4 separate regions of the Homo sapiens genome follow, and regions 2, 3 and 4 are each linked to region 1. Evidence: promoter capture Hi-C in 16 types of primary human blood cells and fetal thymus (Javierre and others, 2016). All regions are on one chromosome and are shown on one strand. The core of a region is centred on a gene start or on the middle of the fragment in contact, and the rest is flanking DNA. Distances in the headings are between cores, read along the strand shown. Region 1 holds the start of TMEM139 (transmembrane protein 139). Region 2 overlaps EPHA1-AS1 (EPHA1 antisense RNA 1). Region 3 overlaps EPHA1-AS1 (EPHA1 antisense RNA 1). Region 4 overlaps EPHA1-AS1 (EPHA1 antisense RNA 1).

Region 1 (2,822 bases), core at 323-2,822:
CTTGTCTATCGTACTCTCCTTCCGGCAACCAAGAGACTTAAGCTACAAAGGTCCGCCTCTCCCAGACTCTCCCCTTACACCTCAGGCCCATACCTTTTGGCCCCGTGCCTCTTAGCCTACACCTTCCCATTCCCACAACTCACTCCTTAACAAACCCCCTTTCCTATCACACACACCAATGACCCTTGGCCAATTTCCTTCTATTCATATGTTAACTGTAGACTGCAGTCCTGATTCCAGCTGTACTTTCCCCTTATGAGCAGAACAGTGAGGAAATTGGCTGAAACAGAACAACAATCAGCCCCCCTCACTCCTGTGCCTACTTTGCATAGAGACACACCTCATTTAGACTCCCACAGCCTTCCTGTTAATGTCTCCTTCCTCTCTCTGCTATCGATCTGGGGCTCTGGGACAGAGAATCTTCAATATCCCACCAGTGCCCACACTTATTACCACTACAGACACAGTTATTCTCATTCCCATACTCTCTCTCTCTCTCTCTCACACACACACACACACACACACCCTCTCCTATGCTTCCCCACCCCAGCTGTCCCTGGGGAGCCTGGATTGGATTTGTGCCCACGGTCTGCAGCTTCCCTCGGTCTGTCTGCTGGTCACCCTCTGAAGGAACGGGGCCCAGTTTTGTTCACCCTCTGGCTCAAGGACCAAGTATGCTTCTACTCACTCTCTACCTCCAAGCACCTACCCTACTCCGACTTAACTGCCTGACCCACAACTAAAAAGAACAGCTCTTTGATCTTCACAGGTGTGGTGAGGCCTGGTGAGAGGGGAGCCTTCTAGTTAGTGACCTACCACGTTTCAGGAACCATGTTAGTTTCCAGGATTCAGAGATGATTAAAACTAATCACGCACCTTGAGAAACTCACAGTGGAAGGAAAATCAGTAAGCAGAAAAATGCTACATAACCAGGTAAATGCTGGGACAAATTTAGGAAGGAACGATGTGGATACACTGGAGCAGGCTCCAAAGCAGCATCACCTCGGAGGAGGATCTTGAAGACTCAAGAGTTAACTGGGTCAAGAAATATACACACTAACACTTCTGACAGGTCTGCAGAATACAGGGAGTCCATAAAAATAGCACTTGGGTAATGGAAGCAGGACACACCATTCCATGCCCACAGCATTACTTTCTGTGTGCAGTGCACTGTGTGATGATCTACAGAGATTAAATAAGCCGAGGTCTCCGCTTCCAGTCACTTGGGAGAGACGCACAAGGTAAATTACCCAAATAGAAGGCAAACTGCCCAGGGCTGTAATTAACATACAATATGCGCCGAGAGGGAAAGGTTAATGCTAACTCCGGTCCTAAGTACAAAGATCATTGGGAGTCAGGGGTGCACTCTCATTAGGGTACAGCATGGGTGGGTGGAGAGAGTAAAAACCAGAACAAATCAAGGTTCAGCAGTTGGAAGTCAGCCTTAGGGAGAAAAGGGGCGGAGACTGACTGGGCCAGAACAGGGATTGGGACAGAAAAAGAGGGTGGGGCCAGTGGGCTCCACCTACCCGCTCCGGCCCTTCCCACCACCCCCCACCCCATCTACTTTCTACAGTCTGTGGAGACAGGTGAGCGACGAACTTCTGAGACAGGTGTGGGTGCGAGGGTCGGGAGGGTCATGGGATTGGGACCGAGGTGTGAGGAGGGAATCTGCAATTCCTTGCTACACAGAGCGCTGGCAACTTCTGACAGGCTGTTTCTGGGGTATGGGCTGCCTCGGGTTGTTGCTGTTACAAGGAAAGAAAAGAGTTCCCCTGCCCACCGCCTCCCAGCCACTGGGCTACCTCCTGGCAGGAAATTTGCAAACTGAGTTTAACAAGTTAGGATCAGCAGAGGGTAGAGGAGGGCCCTGGCAGATGTGGGGTCTAGAAGAGGACAGGAGTTATCAGGGCCTCCGGCCATTGTGCTGGGCCTTTGCCTGTACAATTGTTTCTCAAGCAGTTGTGTCCCTGTGGCTTTGGTGCGCCTGTGTGCACTTTCTCCCTCCACCTGGAGCATGGGCTAACACCGGAGGAAAGGAAAAGACAGAGTCAGACAGGGTAAGTGGGGCTCCCTCCCCTCTTCTCTCTAACGGGGCTGGATTGAGGGCCTCTGGCTGGGGAGGTGGGGGTGGAGATCCAGTAGGAGCAATAACAGAGGAAGGGCAGGGCCTGCCCCATCACCTGAATTCCAGAGATGCCAGTGTGCACTGAAGCCCCAGGCAGGGCGTGCCCAGGACCGGATCCTGGATGGTGGTAAGGGACAAAGCTGGAAGGGAGACTACAGGGAAGGAGAAAGGAAAGAAGGCAGAGCCATGACACAGTCAACTTACAGAATGGCTGGGAGTCAAAGCTCCTGGGCTGGTTTCCTGGCTATTCCACACACTCCAAGACATAGAGAGAATTTCGGAACTGGAGGGGACTCTACAGATGATTTATTTGAGATTGAAGAACCTAGAAACCAAACAAAGAAATATCATATGGTTACTTTGGTATCTGACACAGCCATGACACCAATTGCTAGTGTAGACACAATAGCTGTGTGTCTTTTTGCAGGAGCCTGGGGAGGGGCCATGGTGCCAATGCACTTACTGGGGAGACTGGAGAAGCCGCTTCTCCTCCTGTGCTGCGCCTCCTTCCTACTGGGGCTGGCTTTGCTGGGCATAAAGACGGACATCACCCCCGTTGCTTATTTCTTTCTCACATTGGGTGGCTTCTTCTTGTTTGCCTATCTCCTGGTCCGGTTTCTGGAATGGGGGCTTCGGTCCCAGCTCCAATCAATGCAGACTGAGAGCCCAGGGCCCTCAGGCAATGCACGGTGAG
Region 2 (2,881 bases), core at 322-2,821, 140 kb after region 1:
GATAAGAAGGCAATACTAAAATGAAGCCATATATAAGGCATAATACAGCCTTTAAGATGCACATTGCTGTGTGGAAAAGTTAGAACAGGGCCTTTATCTGCATGCCTCTCTAGGCGCCTCTGGGACAGAACATTGATAGCTGTTTTGCAGTTCTTATATGAACCAGCACCGTGTCAAGCCCTTCACATACATTGCCATTCAGTCTTATAAGAACTCATGTGGTTTGCTCATTTTGCTGATAAATAAACTGAAATCAAGGTTATTCAGCTAGGAATAGTCAAGGTGACCTTCAAACCCAGAAGTTCTGACACCAGAACTCACATTCAGTTGCTGCATTTAACTCTCATCACTCTGTGTAGACACAAGGAATCTTATTTATGCAAAGGCTTTGGTAGCAATGGCTAGGTTCTGAAGACTCTGGGGTTTAGATGGTGCACAAAGTAAAGAAGCATTAAAGAATGTTGCCTCATTGGATGCCTGGAAGGCAGGGAACTTGCATCCAGAGTTGGAGAGAATGCAGATGTGTGAACTAAAAATGGGACACAGGTCTTGCCATCCAGGAAGTTTTCTCAGGGTGTCTGCTTTCTGAGATACCCATTGAAAGTGTGTCATCTATGGGGAAAAAAAGATCTGTGTGATCCCTTAAAGACTTGACTACCTAAAGCTGATGGAAAGAGCACAGTTCTTAGAGGTAAGACCTCTCCTCTATGGCTGGGAGCTGCAGGAGGCTGGTGGCAGGTCATGGGCAGGCTGAGCAGCGGTGGAGATGGACAGCAACAGCAGGCAGCAGAGCTGCTGTGGGAGCAGAGTCCGGGACAGCTGTGCAGGGGCTGGATGCCCATGAGAGGGCTAGGTCTGGAGACCCACAGACCAAGCTGGCAGGGCGCACAGGGCCTAGTGCCATTGCAATGTGTCATTTGTCCCCCAGGCTGGGGGGACCTGGGGAAATGACTGTACAAATTCATCTTTTATGTATAAAACCTCTTCCTCCAAACTGGGCTTGAGAAATGTGCTGGTCTGTTGCTGTAGCTGCCTTACCAAAAGGTGAGTTCTAATTTTTCTGTTATACTTGATATTGACAATGAGCCCCATGAGCTTCTGTAAGGGGGTGTTTTTTGCTGACCATACCCGAGATGGCTATGATGTAGTCACATAGGATGAGGTGCCTCCTTCTTCCTCAGAGTGCATCAAGCCCTCCACCTTACAGTGATGACAGGAGACCCAGGAGTTCACTCTAACCCTCATCTGGTACTCCCACCCCCATCCTGTTATGTCTCTGGGTCTCCTAATGCTTATTAGAGTCTAGGTCTGGAAGAGGGTGGGAGCCCAGTTTGACGGCTGCAAAGTAATTGCCTTAAAACCCAAAAGCTGGGTGAAGCTTCATGCCTCCTTTACGGCTAATGATGACAATGCATGCTGCTCACTGGCCTGGCTAACCTCAGCACTGGACTACTCTCTTTCCCCAAGGTCATACTCAGTGGAGGGCGCCACGTGGACTAGGCTGGGTTTTAAGTCAAAGTGCAGTGTGCAGAAGGATGCAGGGGTCTGATATGGCTGCCCAGGGTTGTGGGGCATCAGGGTGCTGTGGGCTGGGCTCAGCTCAGAGAGGCTCAAGAATGCCAAACTCCGTGAGCTCCCTCCAGTAACCAGGAGATGCTGAGACCAGCATCTCCTGGTGGACACTATGCCAAGAGCCTGTTTCTATAGAAAGCTACTCTGCAGTGGAAGTGTTTCCGTCACCCAGGAATACTGGGTGACAACCACGAAAGCTTGTGTGTCCAGAATTGTTGGGTTCTTGGTCTCCCTGACTTCAAGAATGAAGCTGCGGACCCTCACGGTGAGTGTTACAGCTCTTAAGGTAGCGCGTCTGGAGTTTGTTCCTTCTGATGTTCGGATGTGTTGAGAGTTTCTTCTTTCTGGTGGGTTCGTGGTCTCGCGGGTTTCAGGAGTGAAGCTGCAGACGTTCGCGGTGCGTGTTATAGCTCTTAAGGCAGCACGTCTGGAGTTGTTCGTTCTTCCCAGTGGGCTCGTGGTCTCGTTGGCTTCAGGAATGAAGCTGCAGACTTTCGCGGTGAGTGTTACAGCTCATAAAAGCAGTGTGGACCCAAAGAGTGAGCAGCAGCAAGATTTATTGCAAGAAGCGAAAGAACAAAGCTCCCACATTGTGAAAGGGGACCCCAGCGGGTTGCCACTGCTGGCTCCGGCAGCCTGCTTTTATTCTCTTATCTGGCCCCACCCACATTCTGCTGATTGGTAGAGCCAAGTGGTCTGTTTTGACAGGGTGCTGATTGGTGCGTTTACAATCCCTGAGCTAGATATAAAGGTTCTCCACGTCCCCATCAGATTAGTTAGATACAGAGTATCCACACAAAGGTTTTCCAAGGCCCCACCAAAGCGGCTAGATACAGAGTGTCGATTGGTGCATTCACAAACCTTGAGCTAAACACAGGGTGCTGATTGGTGTGTTTACAAACCTTGAGCTAGATACAGAGTGCTGATTGGTGTGTTTACAATCCTTGAGCTAGACACAAAGTTCTCCAAGGCCCCACCAGAGCAGCTAGATACAGAGTGTTGATTGGTGTATTTACAATCCCTGAGCTAGACATAAAGGTTCTCCAAGGCCCCACCAGAGCAGCTAGATACAGAGTGTTGATTGGTGCACTCACAAACCCTGAGCTAGACACAGGGTGCTGATTGGTGTGTTTGCAATCCCTAAGCTAGACATAAACGTTCTCCAAGGCCCCACCAGAGCAGCTAGATACAGAGTGTCCATTGGTGCACTCACAAACCCTGAGCTAGACACAGGGTGCTGATTGGTGTGTTTACAATCCCTGAGCTAGACATAAAGACTCTCCACGTCCCCACCAGACTCAGGAGCCCA
Region 3 (2,700 bases), core at 182-2,681, 200 kb after region 1:
TCAAAAGAGAGTAGTACAAATTGTGGTCCTCCCACCTGTTCCCTTACACACACACATACACATGCACACACACACAGATGCACACACATACACACACATGCGTACACACGTTATACTGGAGAGCACAGTCCAATGCCCACTGTTTTCAGAGTGAGGCCTTCTTGTTACTCAAACCACTCTCTAATGTTTTAATTCAGAGCTCCTCATCAGAGCTCGACTCAGAGCTGCCTTCACATCCTTGTTCCGCAGACTGTAGATGAAAGGATTCAACATGGGGGTCACCACAGCATAAGAGAGTACCATCACCTTTTCCTGCTCAGCTGAGGCCATGGAGCGAGGCTGCATGTAGGTAAAGAGGGCCATCCCATAGGATATGGAGACCACAGTGAGGTGGGAGGCACAGGTCCCAAAGGCCTTGCGGTGCCCCTGGGTGGAGTGGATCTGCAGGACGGCAACTACAATGAGGGTGTAGGACAGCGAGACCAGGCAGCAGGGCACCAGCAGCACCACCACACTGGAGGCCACTATGACCACCTGATTGAAGGTGATGTCCACGCAGGCCGACCTGACCAGTGCCAGTGTCTCACAGGCCACATGGTTCAGCACGTTGTGCCCACAGGTGGGCAGGTGCATGGTCAGTGCCGTCTCCATAGCAGAATTAGCCAGGCCCACTAGCCAAGAGACAGCTGCCAGTGCCATGCAGAGCCTTGGGCTCATCACTGCTATGTAACACAGGGGGTCGCAAACAGCCACGTAGCGGTCATAGGCCATTGCGGCCAGCAACAAAAACTCGGTCCCTCCGAGGGCCAGGGAGAAAAAGAGCTGGGTCCCACATCGGGCAAAGGAGATGGTCTTTCTTTGCTGGTGCAGTGCACCAGCATCTGAGGGACCCTGCTGGAGGTGTAGCAGATGTCCACAAGTGAGAGGTTGCAGAGGAAGAAATACATGGGCAGGTGGAGTCTCACGTCCAGCCAGATCAGGAGCAGGATGAGCCCATTGCCCAGCAGGGTCAGCAGGTAGGCAGCCCCAAATAAGATAAAGAGTCCAGCCTGGGTCTGCCTGTCACTGGAGAGACCCATTAGGATGAACTCACTCACCCAGGTTATGTTGTCCCTTCCCAGTTGGGACATTGAACCTCACTTCTTCAATCTAGGTGGTTAGGAGGGAATGCAAAGGTCTTGGAGAAAAGGACATTTGGTTTCTGACACTAAACCAAATTCTGAGAGGTTCTGAAGGACAAAGTCCCTGTTTTGGCCATCCTTTCACGTCGAGGACCGATCACAGTTACAGTTGTGTAGGAGGTAATCTATCAATGTAGAAGGAATGATAGAGAAGAAAGGATGAAAGAAGCAAAGAAAAACTAAGGAAAGACAATAGGAAAATGGAAAAGGAGGGAAGGAATGTGGAAGATATGAAAGAAAGGAAGGATTCTTCACTGTGGGGAAGCAGTGGGTAAAGTATTGTAATCAGACACTTGAGAACTGTAGGCATGTCCTAGGATTTCTCAGCTCATTTCTTAACTCTGGATTGAGCTGCTCTTCCTGCTTCTTCTAGGGTCCACTAAGTCCAGACAGGAATCCTCTCACATCCTTTTCATTTCTCCCACAAGTCCAGATAAAGCTGAAGTCCTTGAAACCAATATCTACTAATCCCCTGCTGGTGTGCCAGGGTCTGTGCCAGGCATTGGTTACCTGCTGGTAAGTAAGAAAGATAGAAACACGGGCCCTTGCTTTCTTGATTCTTATAATTTATCTAGGGACACAGAGATTACATCAATAATTACAAATAATTAATTAAGTATAATTGTGCTAAGTGCTATGAAGGAGAAGAACAAGGTTAGTATTTGGCTAATTAAATTTGGAGCTTTGTAATTAAATTATGACAGTAGTTATGCCTTACTCCTTAATAACATGCAATTTATATAGTGAGTTTCAGGCATTTATTTAGATGTTTAAACAAATGATTAACAAAGTAATGTTGTGATGCAAGCGTTCGAAAACCAATGATACTCATGTATTACTACTGAGTATGAGGTGATAGAAACCCACAGAATCTTTTCAAACAGAGTGAATTCTCCCTTGTCAGCCAAGGTTGTACCAGTTCATCTCCCTTCTACCATGCTGACTGGTCCTCTTGAAAAATAAAATTAAGTGCCATCACTTTTTCTTAATATAAATATAATCTCCAGATGTATTTCCTGCTCTTAAAAAATTTAATTAACAAACTGATTCATTTATTAAAACATTATTGAGTATATCAGGCACTATGCTTTCAACCAACCTCTAGGAAATTCCACCTTTCAATGTTAGGGATTTGTGTTTAGAAAATCAGCAGTGCCAGAGGATCAAATAATAAATTTTTAAAAATGGATTTTGGTCAAATCTGAGAATCTAATGAGAGCATGTTTGTGCAAGCCACTACAGCCAGAGGACAAATGCCATACATCTGCATTAAGAAAATGAGAGCAGAACCACAGAATAAAATGCAAGAAAGCTGAAATGCATAATTCAATTTATGTTTCTTCTGGCTGGAAACATTGGTGGAGGGAGAGAGCAGAGAGGACCTGGATGGAGCTGGCATCTTGTCTCCATTCAGCCCTGGTCCTGCAGTGGCCAGAAGGTGTCACTGTAGAAACTGCTAAGAATAGAAACTGGCCTTGGGTTCTCAAGGTTGGAGATCAGGTTCTAGGGTCAGAGCCAG
Region 4 (2,727 bases), core at 228-2,727, 230 kb after region 1:
AGGAGGAGAAGTTACAGAGAGAGAAGAAAACACCACAAGGCCTGCCTAAGCCACCTTCCTCCCCCAGGGAGAAAGCAGATGTTCTTACTCTTCCGAGTGATGAATAACATCAGCTATAACAGCTAACATTTAAGAGACTGCCAGGCAATGCTCACGAGGACTTTGCAAATTTAATTTAACTTATTCTTAGTGACAGTGCAATAAGGTTAGTGGACTCTCTCCATACCCATGTTATAGATGAGGAAATTGAGGCCTAAGGAAATGAAACATCATCTAGCTAATTAACAGTATAGCCAGATTTATACCCAAGCAATCTAGCCCCCAATAGTCCATAGTCTTATCCACTATATAGTCGTCCTTATTTATACCTTTTCCAAAACATCCTTCCCTCATGAGACACATCTTACCCTTCTTTTCATATACCCCACCTTCTGCAGAAGAGAAATCACCCACGGTCTCTAGGCATTTCTGTCCTCAGATTTCCCTTTGTTGACATTTTTCTTGAGGACATGTGGATGTGAGCAGCAATGCAGATAATCTAAGATAGCAAATCTAAAAATAATTTCTCCTTAGCTTTGACATTCATTGCTGCTATTGTTATTGTTCCGGCAGATTCACTTTTTTAATTGGGTAAGACTCCATGGAGCACCCACAGAGTCATGGCTGGCTGGTGGCCCAGGACATCTGGATGTGGCTGAGAGCCTTGCTGGGCTGGAGATGCAGATCTGAGATTTGATTTTTTGCTGTATAGAATAATTAAAATTATCTGCAATCATGATGTTTTTAATCGGCCATTTCAAGAGTCAATGGAAGCACCCCTAAAGGGTGGATGTGGGATGGGAGATGTGAGAGCTAGACCAGTCAGCCCCTTTCAGGTTTTGAGGATTCCATAGAATGCTGAACTGGAATGGAGCTTAAAGGTCAAACATTCTAGGCCTTCATGTGAGGTCCAGAGATGTCACTAATCAGACTTGGATCTCACCATGGTCTTTTAGCAGGAGAACTGGACTAGAGCCTGGTTCTCACACCTCTGGCTGAATGGTTCCATTTCTGTAAGAATTGTCTTCCAGAGTAGACCTGAGCTTACTGATCTAGTATTATAGTTTACAAAATCACCAAATGAGAGGTCACAGCAGAATTTTATCATTGTCCTATAGTAGTTTAGGATAAAATTTTATCATTTCCCTGATCTGGTAAGAAGTTAAACTTAGAAGATTATGAATATGCCTGGATTTCTTAACCTCATTTAATAACTCTTCATAGGCTTCTGGTCTATGAATTTATATAAATTATTCTGGAACCCACTTTTATCCAGTGATTCCTTTTAGGAATAACACACTATACATTCATTTTTTTTTTTTAGCCTTAGTCCTTAGTGAAGTAAAAGGAGTCTCCATAGTTTATATTTCTGCTTTGTTGTTTATAGTTTATATTTCTGCTTTGTTGTTTTCTGAATGCTTGATGTGGGGAAGGGGCAAGGTAATAAACTCTTCCAAAGTCTCAGACTCCTCACTGATTCAACAGAGGGTAACAAAAGAGGCTTGATGATGGATGATTCCATAGAAATAACATGTACAAATTTCTGGTACAGACCTGATACATAGTAGGTGCAGAAAAACACTGAAAGCATTTTTACTTTTATCCTTTATTACTTGACAGGCTTAAGTCATATTTTCTCTGAGTATTCTCCCTCCCACCATGGAACTCTCCATAAGCGTGCTGTTTCAGGGGATTACCTAGTGCCTTTTCTCTTTCTGAGGTGCAAGAAGTAAAGTGAGTGTATATCTGGGTGTGGGAACCTTATGAGGAGATGAGTAGACATAGATGTAGGGAAGTCTGTCTATCTGTCTGTCTGTCTTCTATCTATCCACCTATTTCTATCTTTCCACTTATTTTCCCTCCTGCACTTCCTACTGTCTTTCTGAGACTGTACAAGCTATGGAAGAAGACATCACTAGATTAAAATCCTGGCTTAATCACTTATGTGCCATATTGACTTTGGTTGATGTACTCAATTTCCATGATCCTCAGTCTCTACATCTAAATGGAGATAATGATGCCTAATTCATAGGGTTGCTGTGAGAATCAGGCATATTATAAAGAAAGCCCATTACATAGTACCAGGCATGAAGAAGCTAACAAAAGGTGGTTTCTAATCATTTCATTTGACTACTCTGTCTTCTACAATGTCATGTCAGTCTTTGTGCTCCCTCTGCATAGCAGCCGACAACTGCAATTACTGTAATGCCTCCTTTCCCTACATCATACAGGCCTTTTTCTTGGTTTATGACAGATAACTTGAAAATAATTAATTTACATATATTTGCATTATATATGTTAAATTTAAATTTATTTTATAAAAGAAAACTCATTTACTATTCTTCTTGTTTTTTTTTTGCTGTCATGCAAACTTCCACATTTTTTAGTGTTTTTTTTTTTCCTCATCAATTTGGTAATTCCTTTACTGAAAGGAGGTAAATGTCATCTCTGGATTTATCAACTTCACTGTGTTGTCCCTCCCCAACCTTTTATGATCTCAGCCTCCATCGCTGGGATATGTGTTATTTGCCTGCATGGTGTTTCTGTCTTGTGAGCCAGTTCCTTTTACATGATAAAGCCGCCTACTGAATCTGTGATGACTAAATTTGGTATGAGATCTTGTCAAGGTCTTTTGAAAGTCTAAATAAAAGAAACCCTCTGTTAGTTTCTTGTTGGCTTCTTTCTCTC

Evidence for each region. The method cuts DNA at HindIII sites, captures the fragments that hold promoters and counts their contacts. A CHiCAGO score of 5 or more calls a contact.
Region 2: a contact is called between a fragment that was not itself captured here and the fragment with the promoter of TMEM139 in region 1, in 2 of 17 cell types (neutrophils and total CD8 T cells). The highest score is 9.1, in neutrophils.
Region 3: a fragment that was not itself captured here is called in contact with the fragment with the promoter of TMEM139 in region 1 in 1 of 17 cell types (M0 macrophages); the score reaches 6.2 in M0 macrophages.
Region 4: a contact is called between a fragment that was not itself captured here and the fragment with the promoter of TMEM139 in region 1, in 1 of 17 cell types (M1 macrophages). The highest score is 5.3, in M1 macrophages.

Annotation. Positions count from the first base shown.
Region 1 is chr7:143,283,386-143,286,207 of GRCh38, forward strand. TMEM139 (transmembrane protein 139) reads left to right here and starts at 1,573. Exons shown (of 3, transcript NM_001282876.2): 1 at 1,573-2,060; 2 at 2,556-2,817. The coding sequence starts at 2,573. It overlaps TMEM139-AS1 (TMEM139 antisense RNA 1), which reads right to left. Exons shown (of 3, transcript NR_133932.1): 1 at 2,592-2,822; 2 at 2,333-2,453. RefSeq lists an enhancer at 1,599-2,798. The HindIII fragment of the contact is 11,639 bases long and covers 1-2,822 here.
Region 2 is chr7:143,421,443-143,424,323 of GRCh38, forward strand. All of the region lies in intron 2 of EPHA1-AS1 (EPHA1 antisense RNA 1), which reads left to right. Among named protein-coding and RNA genes, the nearest start is that of EPHA1, 14 kb to the left of the region's middle. The HindIII fragment of the contact is 391 bases long and covers 1,377-1,767 here.
Region 3 is chr7:143,488,282-143,490,981 of GRCh38, forward strand. The region is part of intron 2 of EPHA1-AS1 (EPHA1 antisense RNA 1); the gene reads left to right. It also overlaps the pseudogene OR2R1P. Among named protein-coding and RNA genes, the nearest start is that of TAS2R41, 12 kb to the left of the region's middle. The HindIII fragment of the contact is 3,467 bases long and covers 1-2,700 here.
Region 4 is chr7:143,514,594-143,517,320 of GRCh38, forward strand. All of the region lies in intron 3 of EPHA1-AS1 (EPHA1 antisense RNA 1), which reads left to right. Among named protein-coding and RNA genes, the nearest start is that of TAS2R41, 38 kb to the left of the region's middle. The HindIII fragment of the contact is 3,016 bases long and covers 1-2,727 here.